2 separate regions of the Homo sapiens genome follow, and region 2 is linked to region 1. The links are contacts of gene promoters, found by promoter capture Hi-C in human tissues and cell types (Jung and others, 2019). All regions are on one chromosome and are shown on one strand. The core of a region is centred on a gene start or on the middle of the fragment in contact, and the rest is flanking DNA. Distances in the headings are between cores, read along the strand shown. Region 1 holds the start of FMN1 (formin 1). Region 2 overlaps RYR3 (ryanodine receptor 3).

Region 1 (6,444 bases), core at 1,485-3,984:
TGGTCTCAAACTCCTGGGTCCATGCAATCCTCTCGGCCAGTAACTGTTTATTAAGCAAGGATCACATAAATACTCCACTAACAAGCTGGGCATGGTGGCTCACGCCTGTAATCCCAGCACTTTGGGAGGCCGAGGCGGGCAGATTGCTTGAGGTCAGGAGTTCGAGACCAGCCTGGACGACATGGTGAAACCCCATCTCTATTAAAAACACAAAAAATAGCCAGGCATGGTAGTGTATGCCTGTAGTCCCAGCTACTCAGGAGGCTGAGGCAGGAGAATCACTTGAACCTGAGAGACAGAGGTTGTAGTGAGCCGAGATTACACCAGTGTACTCCAGCCTGGGTGACAGAGTGAAATTGTCTCAAACAAAACAAAACAAAACAAAACAAAACAAAACAAAACAAAACTCCACTAACTTGTTAATTAGTGTATACCTTTGTATTGATCTATAACCTTTAACTTATTTATATTTTGTCTTTATTAATAGCCTCTTTGGGAAAATATTTTTCTTCTCCTTTCTCTTTAAAACACCTCCTACTCCCTCCCCCTACCAAGCTTAGAGCAAGTACATATTTCCAGGTTTGATTAAAGGCCAGAGTAGGATTTAGGAATTTCTTCAGAACACTGTTGAAACAATGCTGGAATATGACTTTGGATTAACATCCTTTTACCTTTCTAGGACTCAGCTCACACGACCATGATATTATTTTGTGGGTGGACTTTAAAAGATTTCTACATCAATTAAAACCTAGTTTGACTTAAGCCCTGCAAAATTTTACTTCCTTCCCAACAATAGGAAATCACAGCTCCCTTCTATGAGCAAAGTTGACTTGCAATTGCTCCTAACACATGTCAGAGGTGACACTTCACTCTTAAAGGTGCTTCTGAGGCTGCGGTTTCAAGAAGTCAGTAGTGTGAAAACTGGATCCCTATATGACAATTTTCAGGTAAAAAGAAAAAAGCATCAAGGAATTAAGAGTCGTACTGAGGGCTTCTTATTCTTCTAACTGATGATGATGATTTTTAGACAGGAGATATACGGACCTCGTATTGACTCTACTCCTAACTACGAACATGACCCAAGGACAATTACTTGAACTTTGGGAACCTCAGTTTTCTTATCTATAAGTGGAATTTACAAGGGGAAGATATGAGGATTGAAGGAGATAATGTATATGAAGTGCCTATGGAGCCGGGCACAGCACTTCACAACTGTAATCTCGGCATTTTGGGAGGCTGAGAAGGGAAGATCGCTTGAGCTTAGGAGTTTGAGACCAGCTTGGGCAATATGGTGAAACCCTGTCCCTACAAATAAAAAATTAAAAAATTAGCTGGACATGGTGGTGCCCGCCTGTAGTCCCAGGTACTTTGGAGGCTGAGTTGGGAGGATGGCTTTAGCCCACGGGGTTGAGGCTGCAGTGAGCCAAGATCGCACCACTGCACCCCAGCCTGGGTGACAGAGTGAGACCGTGTGTTAAAAAAACAAATAAATAAAGGGCCTATCAGTGTTTGGCTAATATTGTGATTAAGAATAAATCAGAGTTCCAATAAACTATTATTTCTAGAAAAAAAATAGTGAAAAAAATCACCTTAAAAATACCTTCCAAATTTTTTTCCCATTTACTTATTTGAAAACAGAATCTATTCAGGACAAAATTCTATCTTCAAGTACCAAATGGGTGATACAGTTCGCATTTATCCAAAAGCAGATTAAAGACAATGCCTTTTCTTGCCTACCTACTTGGAAAAGATCTCAGTGTCACTCAAATCACATTCCAAATCTCAACGACATTAAGGCCTCAAATCCTCTTAGGAAAGGTTTGAAGGTAGTTCATTTCAGTAATGATTAGACACTTGGGGACAAAACAGTACCTTGGCATCAAGGTCTGTACTGATTCACCAGCACAGAAATAGCAGTAACAAGATCTTCAACTCTGAGGTGTTCAAATAAGCAGACAAACTCCCTCGTGAGGCCCAGGCCTCTTGACATCCGGACTCAGTCTTTCTTTCTCAGATCGCCAAGGGTCTGGCCCATTTCTCAGCCTAAACCTATTTTGCGTTTAATTCAAACCAGTCAAAGTAACTTAACCGCCAGCAGTTAAAAAGCTACTAGGAGGAAGCGTAGGCAGGAGATGGGAGAGGAAAAGGCTCCTGTCAGGGTTTGGGCTTATGTGTGGATTCTTGAATTCTCCTTCTTTGTTCCTTTTAGCACTTACGATCAAGAACGGCTAGGCTGAGGGGGCAGGGGGGCCAGGCCACTGGAGCGAAACGGCCTCTCCGGATCTGGAGGCGTGGGAACCTCGGGAATAGTGGGGAGTTCCAGACCAGTTCCCTTCCCCCATCTGAACAAGTCCAGAGCGTGCGCCTTGAGAGGCGCTCGGAAACAGGGAAGCTGGGGACACGTAGCGAGAGACTGGTTGTCGCCCTGGCTGTCCGTCTTAGACCTAGCTTAGCGACCACCGCCTTCAATCCCTCAGCCCGGATCAGACGGTGCCAAAAGACAGCACTGCTTCCCAGCCTGGCCCAACGGCTCGGCTGCTGATTGGGCACCGCCGCCTCCCGCCCCGCCTCCCCTGCCACCTCGGGCGCCGCTGCACGTTTCCACTGGTCTTCAGCCCTGCCGATCAGTTTACTGCTCACCTCCCCCAAACAGCTCGTCAGGCCGGCGCGTGCTAGGAAGGCGGGGCCTGTGGCCTGTGGGGCGGAGCCTCGGTGGAGGTCGGCGCAGCTGCCCCTTTGGGCTTTGGCTCTGGACTGGAGCGCAGCATCCTTCGAGGCTGCAGCCGCCACGGCTGTTGCCGTAAGCAATCCTCCTGCCTCAGCCTCCCGAGTAGCTGGGACTCGGGACCAGCCTCCCGAGTATTGGTCAGGTAAAGAGAGTCTTGTCTGTTCTGCTGGCCATCTGCCCGTCTCTTCTTCCCGACCAAAGGCTGCCTGCTCCGCCTTCCCCCGTGGCTTTCAGGGTTCTTGGAATGAGGCATCAAGTCTATTTACCCCGCCAGCTTATCTTCCTCCCCTTCTGTGTCGGTTCCTCCAGCTCCCCCACCAAGCTGCTCCCAAGTACGTTGGTGGGCCCTCCGGGTCATCCCAACGCTCCTCACTACAGAACTCCTGTCGTTGACTCTCAGGTCCCAGCCCCCTTGACCCGCCAGTGCAGTCTCATTCCCAGCTTGGCACAGGAAAGGTGGAGGGCGGGAGGGCGGGAGGGCGGGGGACGGAGAGATGCAGAGCTTTTTTTTTTTTTTTTTTTTTTTTTTGAAGCTGGATGTGTTTAGCGCAGAGGGGGAGCACCACAATGGGATTGCATTGGGAACAGAAGCAGCTTCATGACTATGGTTGGCAATGACTAGAAAGGTATCTGTTGCTGCTTTTTGCTTGTGTTTATAGATGACATTTACCATCACCGTTTTCTTCTTCTTTCATCATCATCATCATCACCATTGCCACTACCACCACCTCCAAGGCCACTACCACCACAGCATCTCTGTTCCTCCATCAGAGCTCTTCAAGTTCTGTAAAGGCAGATTCTCTAAAGGCATGTAAGTGCTGACGGATCCCCCAACCCCCTCCCCCACCACCAAATAACGAACAGTGCTCTTGCCCCCTGAGGCCAGAGCCAAGCCCTCATTTAACTCAAGAACAAGTAGCTGGGAGCAGAGTGTGAGCTGGGAGGATTTTCCTTATCCTCATTTGCAATTGAGATTGCCAAAGAAAACCCTTTATTTTAATCATCCACATTTCTGCTTGCTGTCTCCTGGAGAGTTCCATGTTAGCACTCACACACTCCGAATGGGCTGAATGCAGAGCCTGAACCTGTGATATATATGGGGAGTGGCAGTCACTGAGAGGTGAATGTCCAGACCCAATCCTTTAAGAAGACCAGGTGGAGTAGCAGACAACCTGACTTTCTGCTACAGTAGCTCCAGCTGTACTAAAGCATGTTTACTATTCATGTTTGCATATGGGACATGTGCCATCATCTGCTATGCCCCCTTGCGTGTGTATTGGCAGGGGGGCGGAGGGGCGCATCTAAATTCCTAGGAGAGAGAATTATATTCTGTTCTCTACACCAGGTAGCATCTTATAGGCACACCAATGGGATTCAACAGCCGTTGCTTAGCTGTTTCTAGGGCTTACTGCAAATCTCTTGGATCACAGACTTATTAACCCTTTTTTGGGAGGGAAAACAGTATAGCTGAGAATTGCATACCAGATTAACTGTCGTTGTGGAAGATGTTGCTTCCACAATGAATCAATGAGGTCTCGGGTCTTCTTGATCAGATATCTAAACACTAGTCTCCTTTCTCTCAACTGTGTTACAGTCCAGGAGCAGGACCAATGAATAGTTAGACATATTGCAGGAACAAAGAAGCAATGGCCTCAATGGAGGGAAACAATGGAGAAGAGTAGTGAGACAGTATATTGTAATGGCTAAACTCATAAACCTGTCAGACATAGGTTCAAATCCTGGACCAGCCACTGACTAGCTCAGTGATTTTTGCAAGTTGCTTGCCTCTTTAATTTTAATTTCTCGTCTGTAAAATAGGGATAATACTACCTGTCTCTTAGGAGAAGGTGTGAGGATTAAACGAGATAATATAGGTAAAATACTCAGTAGTTTCTGGCACATAAGTGGGGAATTTATAGTAACTGCTATTAATAATACTAGTCAAGAAGGATAATAAAGGCCAGTCTCGTTCCTAAAAATTATGCATTTTTTTCCATTGTCTTTATCCTTTTTAGGTGTCAGAGCTGATGCAAATGGGGTATGGTAGTCTTCAGGTTCCTTATAGCACTACATCTTAGAGGGGTGCCACTATTGAAGCCACCTGTGTTTGGACAGGCATTTCTCTCACCAGCCTTCACAAGTACTTAGCCGATTCTTAGTTGAGATACGTTAAAGATGCAGCTTTAGAGAAGATTTCCAGGCCTCTGGCCCTATTCTAGACTGCTTCTTTCTCACTGAGTGTTCAATGCATTGACTGTGATTGATGAAGCCTTTGTCACAGGCTTAACCCTGCCTAGACCAAATGCTTTGGCCAAGGGAATGGGGTCCCATAGGACCTATGATTGTCTAAGGGTAGGTCTCATATCCTGGTCATCCTCCCTTTCCAGACATAAAATTGGTGGAGCTGTTCCCAGAGGAAGAGGAATGGGGACAGACTGGAACTTGATGTGATGATGGTAAATATCCTTGATAGAAAATTGAGAAATGCTTCTCTCCTATCTCATATACCATGCCTCAAAGTCTAGTTTTACGTTAAAGTTTTGGATTCATGCACACCATCCCAAGCTGTGGTGTGCTTTAGATGATCTTGCCTTTAATGGTTTTCTTATTAAAACTTTATTCGTATCAGTGTAAAAGTTCATAATGGATATTTCATATCTTGCAGTGATGCTACTGGTTGGTAGTATGACCACGTTTAGGGGCTATTCATAATCTCTTTTTGGGACCTGGTTTTAAGAGTAGCTATTATTTTTAGATGTACATAGTCTCTGTCTTAAATATCAGCTTAATTCTCAACAGGTCCCAGCCTGTGTTGACAGAATTACAGCTGTTAATCTGATTTGCCTGATCTTGCAGAGACGCTAAACCATGGGAATTGTATTCTCCTGCAGCAAATATAAGCTTGCACCAACAGGCTGGCACTGTGAAGGAACTGAAGCATCTCTGTATTTAGTGTCTGTGCTGAAGTGCTGACAAAGCATCAACCCCATGCTCTGCAAAATAGTAATTACTAAAGCGGGGAGATGTAAAGAAGGAAACAAACCTCTTTACCTTGTCAGCGCATAAAAGCAAGGGTCTGAGAAATGGAGCATTCCCTCTCACTTATGTTTCTCAAGTTCCCTGGCTAAAAGTAAACAATCTCCCAGAGTAACCTGGATTTCTGTGCTTATCTACGCTTTCAGCAAATACTGCCTTAGTGCATGTTTGAGGATGAGGGAGAGAGAAGAGAGTTGGTCCTCCTTGTGGACATCCTTACCTCCCCACTGGCCTGAAATGACCATGATCTCTGTAATGCATCTCTCTAGGAAGCAGACTACTAGTTAAGTTTTTTTTTCTTTAACCAACACACCTCCTATTTCCTTAACTTGATACTGACTTGTTTTATGTTCCATCTTATTCGAACTATGCCTATCTCTTCCTTCTAAAGTGTCATAGGTCACTGCTAATGATGAACACCTTTCAAATGAAACGCTTTTTTACTGTGGTCTTCCACGTGACAGGCTATTGGGCAAAATATTTTGGAGGTAGCCAGGACTTTTTTTTTTTTTTTGAGATGGAGTCTCGCTCTGTTGCCCAGGCTGGAGTGCAGTGGCACGGTCTCAACACACTGCAAGCTCCGCCTCCCGGGTTCACGCCATTCTCCTGCTTCAGCCTCCTGAATAGCTGGGTCTACAGGTGCCCACCACCACGCCTGGCTAATTTTTTGTATTTTTAGT
Region 2 (6,444 bases), core at 1,765-4,264, 330 kb before region 1:
CAAACTAACTTCCTTTAACATCTCGAACCCTAAATTCCACTTTGGGAGTCCCAGGCAATAAGAAATCTTCCAAGGCCTCAGGAAGGCTCCTTGCTGAGTTTGTTTGGAAGGTCATATTCCTAGGAGGTCTTGTAGGGGATGAAGTCATTTTCCAAGCATGGATGTGCACTTTAATTTTCTCTTCCTTTCACACCTCACTTCAGTTCCCCTCTTTTAGGCTACAGAAGAAAGAAGTCTTTCTGGAAGCTCACAGAACAATATTTCCTGAACAGGCTAGAGCCCTTTTACATTGCCTGGGAGGTTTGCATTTCCTTTGATACAAGTGACAACTAAATAGTAATGATGCCTTATAAGTAGAAAACAATAATACTTAACAGTAGAAATAAACAAAAGCAAGTCACCCAGTATATTCAGTTAGAAAGCATAATGAAAGATTCTACTCATGATTTCCACAAAATGTTAAATTTTTAGAAATCTGCTTAGGTGAAGGCAACCTTTAAAATCAAACTACAAAACCTCATTGTATAAAATAAGATTTGATTTGATGAAATGGAAAGGTGTACTTTGTTACAGGATGAGAACATTAATATTTGTAACTGCTTATTCCCCTAAATTTAACTGACAGATTTAATACAGTTTTAATTACAATTCTAGTGCGATATTTTGCAATTTCACAAATTGCTACAAAACTAATCTGGCAATATAAACAGTAAGGATTTTTTATTCTGAAAAGAACCAAGGTTTTAGTAAATGTTATGAAGCCAAGTTCATTAATTCACTCTGATACTCTGATTCAAAGAGAAAAGTGTGGCACAATACAGACAGTCCATAAACAGGTCTGACTATATGAAAGTGTAGCATATGACAAAGCAGATTTCAGTACAACAGGAGAAAGGCGGGGTTATTAAGCACAAGTCTCTGTGAGATGCGGATGGCAAATGAGAAAAGCTTTCAGTAAGATCCACAGGAAACATAAAAAGATAAGTTACAGATGGATAACATAATTAAATATTTCATTTTAAAATTAAATTCTAAAACAACTAGCATGCAACGGAAGAGTCTACATTCTTCACAGACCTAATATTTATCCATGCTTTGATGCATCAGATATACTCAAAGGCAATAGAAGACAGATACGATTGTACCAAAATTACTGAAATTCAGAACAATGGAAACACCAACATTTAATAGACTACAGAAAGACTTTGTAACACTATGACAAAAGGGTTACTATCTCGTTGAAATGTAGGGAAAAAAACTAAGCCTCATAGAAGTCGGCAAAGAATATGAATAAATGACGCATATTAGAAGAAAATTCAAACATATGGAAGAGATTCTATCTTTTCTAGTAATGAAAGGAATGACACTTGAAGCAACTTTGATATATCATTTTACATCTGCAAAATTTGCAAAAGTGGGGAAAAAAAAGCTTAATGCTATCAGAGTTGCAATTTAGCTGATGAGATTCCAGGCAAGGTGGTACGGAATACAACCCTTTTGCAAAGCAATATGGAAGTATATGAAAAGGGCCATAAGGAAGTCCATAACCTTTTCTGTAGTGATTCTGCTTCTGGGAGCAATTCAAGACAAGCAAAGAAAAGTGTGCACCCAGCTGTGATAAGAGCATTATAATAGGCGCAACAAAACAAAAAACCTGGAAAGAACCTAACTGTCCCAAAGAAAAATATTACCTAGTAAATTATGAGGCTTCTTGAGGATGTTCTATGCTTTACCTATTAAAGAAGGCAATTACAGAGGTTATGTGGAAACACAGAAAAACATTTGTGATATGCCACCGTGGGAAAAGCAGAAAACAAAATACCTTCAAGTATTACATATAGGCAAGAATAAGGAAACCTATGAAAATGAAATAGCCATTTGGCTGGCTGCCGAACCACTGAATTTTTCCTTTTCTAAATTTTCTTTAACACTATTACTATATCAGCATTTTGGGGAAAAGGATAGTGTGTGTATGTGTGTGTAGGGGGGTAGTGCAACAACATGGTACGTGTGTTTAATGAAATCGAGCATTTTAAAAGTATTTTGCCTATTCCCTGTACCTTCAGTTGCTTGTGGGTACGATTACTTTGCCAGGATCCTCAGGAAACGACTTTACCTACCTGAAAGGCAGATGGGGACACATATCTAGCATCATTGCTTTTAAGACACTGACTCCAGAGTCTTTCTTTACCCTTGGTGTTACACGGAAACGCTAGAGAGGCAGCCTTTATTGACGATACCTGACTCCCTTCCCCATAGCTCCCTCAGGCTCAGCTCCAGACTCCAAAGTAAACATCTCCTGCTGCAGGGATTCGTTGCAGTTGGGTCCCAAACCCAGTGGCTCCTCTGACTGTCCCTCTTCACTTTAAATCCCGTTCTTGTTTTTGGGGACTTGGTGCATTCCCTGCTTCTCAAGGCTGCCTCACACAGCTGTTAGATTCTAGGTCTACCCTGCCCTACTGCTATAGGCTAGCAGATCACTCCCTTAGCTGGCCAAACTCCAAAGATCCTACTCAAGCAGACTGCTCTTCCAGGAGGGGTGGACAGATAGTGTGTCCGGAACTGGTTCCTTCTGGTGGGTTCTTGGTCTCACTGACTTCAAGAATGAAGCCGCAGACCTTGCGGTGAGTGCTACAGCTCCTGAAGGTGGGGTGTCCAGAGTTTGCTCCTTCCGGTGGGTTGGTGGTCTCGCTGACTTCAGGAATGAAGCTTCAGACCCTCGCAGTGAGTGTTACAGCTCATAAAGGTAGTGTGGACCCAAAGAGTGAGCAGCAGCAAGATTTACCGTGAAAAGCAAAAGACCAAAGCTTCCACTGCGTGGAAGGGGACACCAGCAGGTTGCCGCTGCTGGCTCGGGTGGCCAGCTTTTATTCCCTTATTTGGCCCTGCCCACATCCTGCTGATAGGTCCATTTTACAGAGTGCTGATTGGTCCATTTTACAGAGTGCTGATTGGTGTGTTTACAATCCTTTAGCTAGACACAGAGTGCTGATTGGTGCATTTACAATCCTTTAGGCAGACATAAAATTTCTCCAAGTCCCCATCCCACCCAGAAGCCCAGCTGGCTTCACCTCTCAATAGGGCTAGACAACACCTCTCCAGCTCAAATGACACCAAAGGAACTGATGGGGCATTTTCCAAACAGGCCTTGAATTGTAAACATCTGGTAACACGGATATTTTTTTCTTCTTTAATGATATTAATAGTTAATGAAGGATTTTGTGGTAGTAGACTGGGAATTAGAAAGTACAGCCCAGGGGTAGGAGGGGCACATGCACAGATGAGTATGGCCTGTGATGAGGAGTCACAGCCAGAGAATGAGGCAACAGGAGCTCGCTAAGTACAGGTAGCCATCCTAACTCCCTGAAACTGGTATGAAACCCCAAAGAGCCCAGTGTGGGACACTTAACTTGTTTCTTCACCACCTTTTTTGGATCAGATAGTTAAATCCTCAACTGGCTAATTGCCAAACCCTCCTTCTCCTGAGCTGAACAAAGATTCTCTCTACCTCCTGTGGCTCTCAACCTTGGAGTATAAAGCACTATACAGCATAAGGTATCGTTCTTTTGACACCTTGATTTTCAACTCATAATGGGGTAATTAATACGAATCTAAAGCCGAGAGTCAGAGGTGCCTGAGCCATTGACTTCAGGGAACTTTGTGAAGAGGTTTTTCCCCCCTAAGAAATCTTCCAAGTGGGCCTGGACCAACTCAGCCAGAGCAGTACAGGTCCTTCACAGAAACATGCTTGAAAGGGGGCGACACCCCTGGCATCTTTCATGGGCATCTTGAGAGAAAAGTGAAAACTGAAACTATGAAACAGAATTTTTTTTTTTTTTGAGATGGAGTCTTGCTCTGTTGCCCAGGCTGGAGTGCAGTGGTGCAATCCCAGCTCACTGCAGCCTCTGCCCCCTGGGTTCCAGCAATTCTCCTGTGTCAGCCTCCTGGGTAGCTAGGAATACAGGCTCACACCACCACACCTGGCTAGTTTTTTTTTTTTTTTTTTTTTAAGTAGAGATGGGGTTTTGCCATATTGGCCAGGCTGGTCTCGAACTCATGACCTCAGGTGATCTGCCTGCCTCGGCCTCCCAAAGTGCTGGGATTACAGGCATGAGCCACCGCATCTGGCCATCAAATAGAATCTTAATGAAGTTCAGAAAACAGGAGGAAGGCACAGCATCTGAAAGTACTACTTCCCCCAAATTCAGTGATCATGGCAGTCTTACTTGGTCAGCTAGCAGTTGCCTTACTAAAAAGACAGGACCAAATGTCAAAGGCTGCAATGCACAATAGGACAGCCCTTACCCCAGAAAAGAAAGTTGGCTGCATCTGGTGGCAGAAGGACCTATGGCAGTCACTCTGTCTGCTGCTGTGCTCTTGTAGAGTGACCTTGACTCCAGGGAGCCCCACCTTCGACACCCACAGTACTGCCTTCTTCCTGTCTCCTCATATCACAGGACAAAAGAGAAGAATACTTGAAAAGCAGTGCACAGAAAGGCACTCCTTTGATTTTTTAAATACATAAACTTTGCCACTAAGCAAGGAAAACAGAGGCAAAATCAAACAATCCATCCCCCTCCGCCCACTACTGAATGTCAAATTTACCATTCCCATGGTTTATAATTTACTGAATCCAGCTAACCCTCTCTCTTGGAAGTGCCTAGAATTATTTTTCCTGGATGAGAAGGTGGCGCAATCTCCTTTTTGTTCATGTCATTAGTTTCACTGCCACATGGAAGTATTTCAGAACAAAAGGATGAAAGGCCAGAGCCTAATTTGAGAAGGTGTAAATTCTCAGTCACAGGCATCATTTGCAGCAAGAACCTGTACCCCAGTAAAGTAGTCTCTTTCAGGAAAACACCAACTTAGATTCTGCTTTGCACAAGTTTAGCACATGGAATAGGTATAATCTGCGAGATGGCTCAGATGGGTTGGAGACTGCAAACGAGATGCTATGGTAACCTAGAGTTGATTCTTTCCTGTGGGCACCTAAAGCCGTAGGAAGATCCCCTGGATGGTGCAGACTTAAACTCCAAATGTGCAACTGAAGACAACTGGGGAACCTCCTGCCTTCCAAGACTTTAAAAATAAGAGCCTTTGCCCTATGAGAATCGATGTAGATTTCTGCAACCATTTTCCTCCCCTTTTGTCCCAATCCATAATGGTTGGGGAACAAATTAAATGACTGAGTTTCCCACTAGTCCTGATACTTTTCAAACACTGCTTCTCAAACAGACAGATGAGCATTTTCCATTGAGGGGGAAAAGGTGGTCACTGGTATGCCTCCAAATTGGGCAGGGTCATCCTGTATACATCTGTGCTTTTCTTTGAACACAGATGCCATGGAGAGAACAGTGAGCCAAAATGGCAACCCTAACACATGTTTCTTATTATGGTGTCTTTTAAAAGAGCAAATCGCCAGATATTTGTCAGCGTATTAATGACATTTAGATTGATGACAAGTATGCTTTGGAAAGAGGTGAGGCAATTTTTTTTTTCCGAATTATTCCCACCACCTTCTCCTGTAGCTAATAGATTAAGAATCTGATGTTGCCAAATTTATTCTTTGCATAAAAGGAGCCTGTCAGCCAAATTTGTTTTCTAGTCACTGCTCTGGTTTCTATTTGAACCACCCATACTCCTCCTCCTCATCAGGCTTCAGATGAAACAGTGGACCAGTGACCACAAAGGGTCAATATTAAGAGCTCTGCCCAATTATTTCCATTCACCAAATGTAGCATAATGAGTATTTCCAACAAAGAGTCTAACATTCAAAAAGTCCGATTACCTTGACGTGAAAATTTGAACACTGTTTCTAATCTACTGTTTCTCTATAAAAAAACTCACTGTTCATCCTGAGGATTTATAGATAACAAAATAGGAGTAAGTTTTTTATCATAAAACCCTGCTGACTACTACTGTGTGTAACACCTTTACCCACACAAGCTATAAAGCAGAAGGTCAACTGGATTCTATTTTGTTATCTGATCCTCCTCCCCCTTTCCTGCAGTTCTTCAACTTACATGGGGTTTTTTCCCCCTTGGATGTCCTGTAACAACCAACCTTTATTTTTTTAAATCTCTCTATCTTTTTTGTACTGGTCTCAACTATGATTTTCCTAGTTGGAGATCGATTCTTCTTGTTCTCTCTATATCCACATAATGAGCATGGGGCCAAGTTTATATTACCCAGCAAAACAAACAGCGATCTTGCCTTTTTCTTGAAGTATATGAAGTAGCCTTGGGTGGAGAGGCTGATTCTCCAGGGTCCTGTGTATGTGGGCCTGGGGATAGACAGAACGGATGCTCCTAATACTTAGCACCTGTCCACGGACCAGGGGCTGTTCTGAAGGCAATGACATCATTCTTCTGAACCTCTCATGATTTCATTCTAGAAAAGTGGCCCTCAATCCCAGCTATAGACCGGAATAACTAGTGGAGATTT

Evidence for each region. Contacts are between HindIII fragments. The study calls those that stand out against the background at their distance.
Region 2: a contact is called between a fragment that was not itself captured here and the fragment with the promoter of FMN1 in region 1, in 2 of the 25 tissues and cell types used here (IMR-90 fibroblasts and aorta).

What each region holds. Positions count from the first base shown.
Region 1 is chr15:33,191,004-33,197,447 of GRCh38, reverse strand. FMN1 (formin 1) reads left to right here and starts at 2,734. Exons shown (of 21, transcript NM_001277313.2): 1 at 2,734-2,870; 2 at 3,388-3,539. It overlaps LOC105370759 (a long non-coding RNA gene), which reads right to left and starts at 2,537. Exons shown (of 3, transcript XR_932090.3): 1 at 1,873-2,537. RefSeq lists silencers at 2,432-2,641, 2,416-2,755. The HindIII fragment of the contact is 9,448 bases long and covers 1-6,444 here.
Region 2 is chr15:33,519,658-33,526,101 of GRCh38, reverse strand. The region is part of intron 3 of RYR3 (ryanodine receptor 3); the gene reads right to left. Among named protein-coding and RNA genes, the nearest start is that of RYR3, 210 kb to the right of the region's middle. The HindIII fragment of the contact is 3,649 bases long and covers 1,190-4,838 here.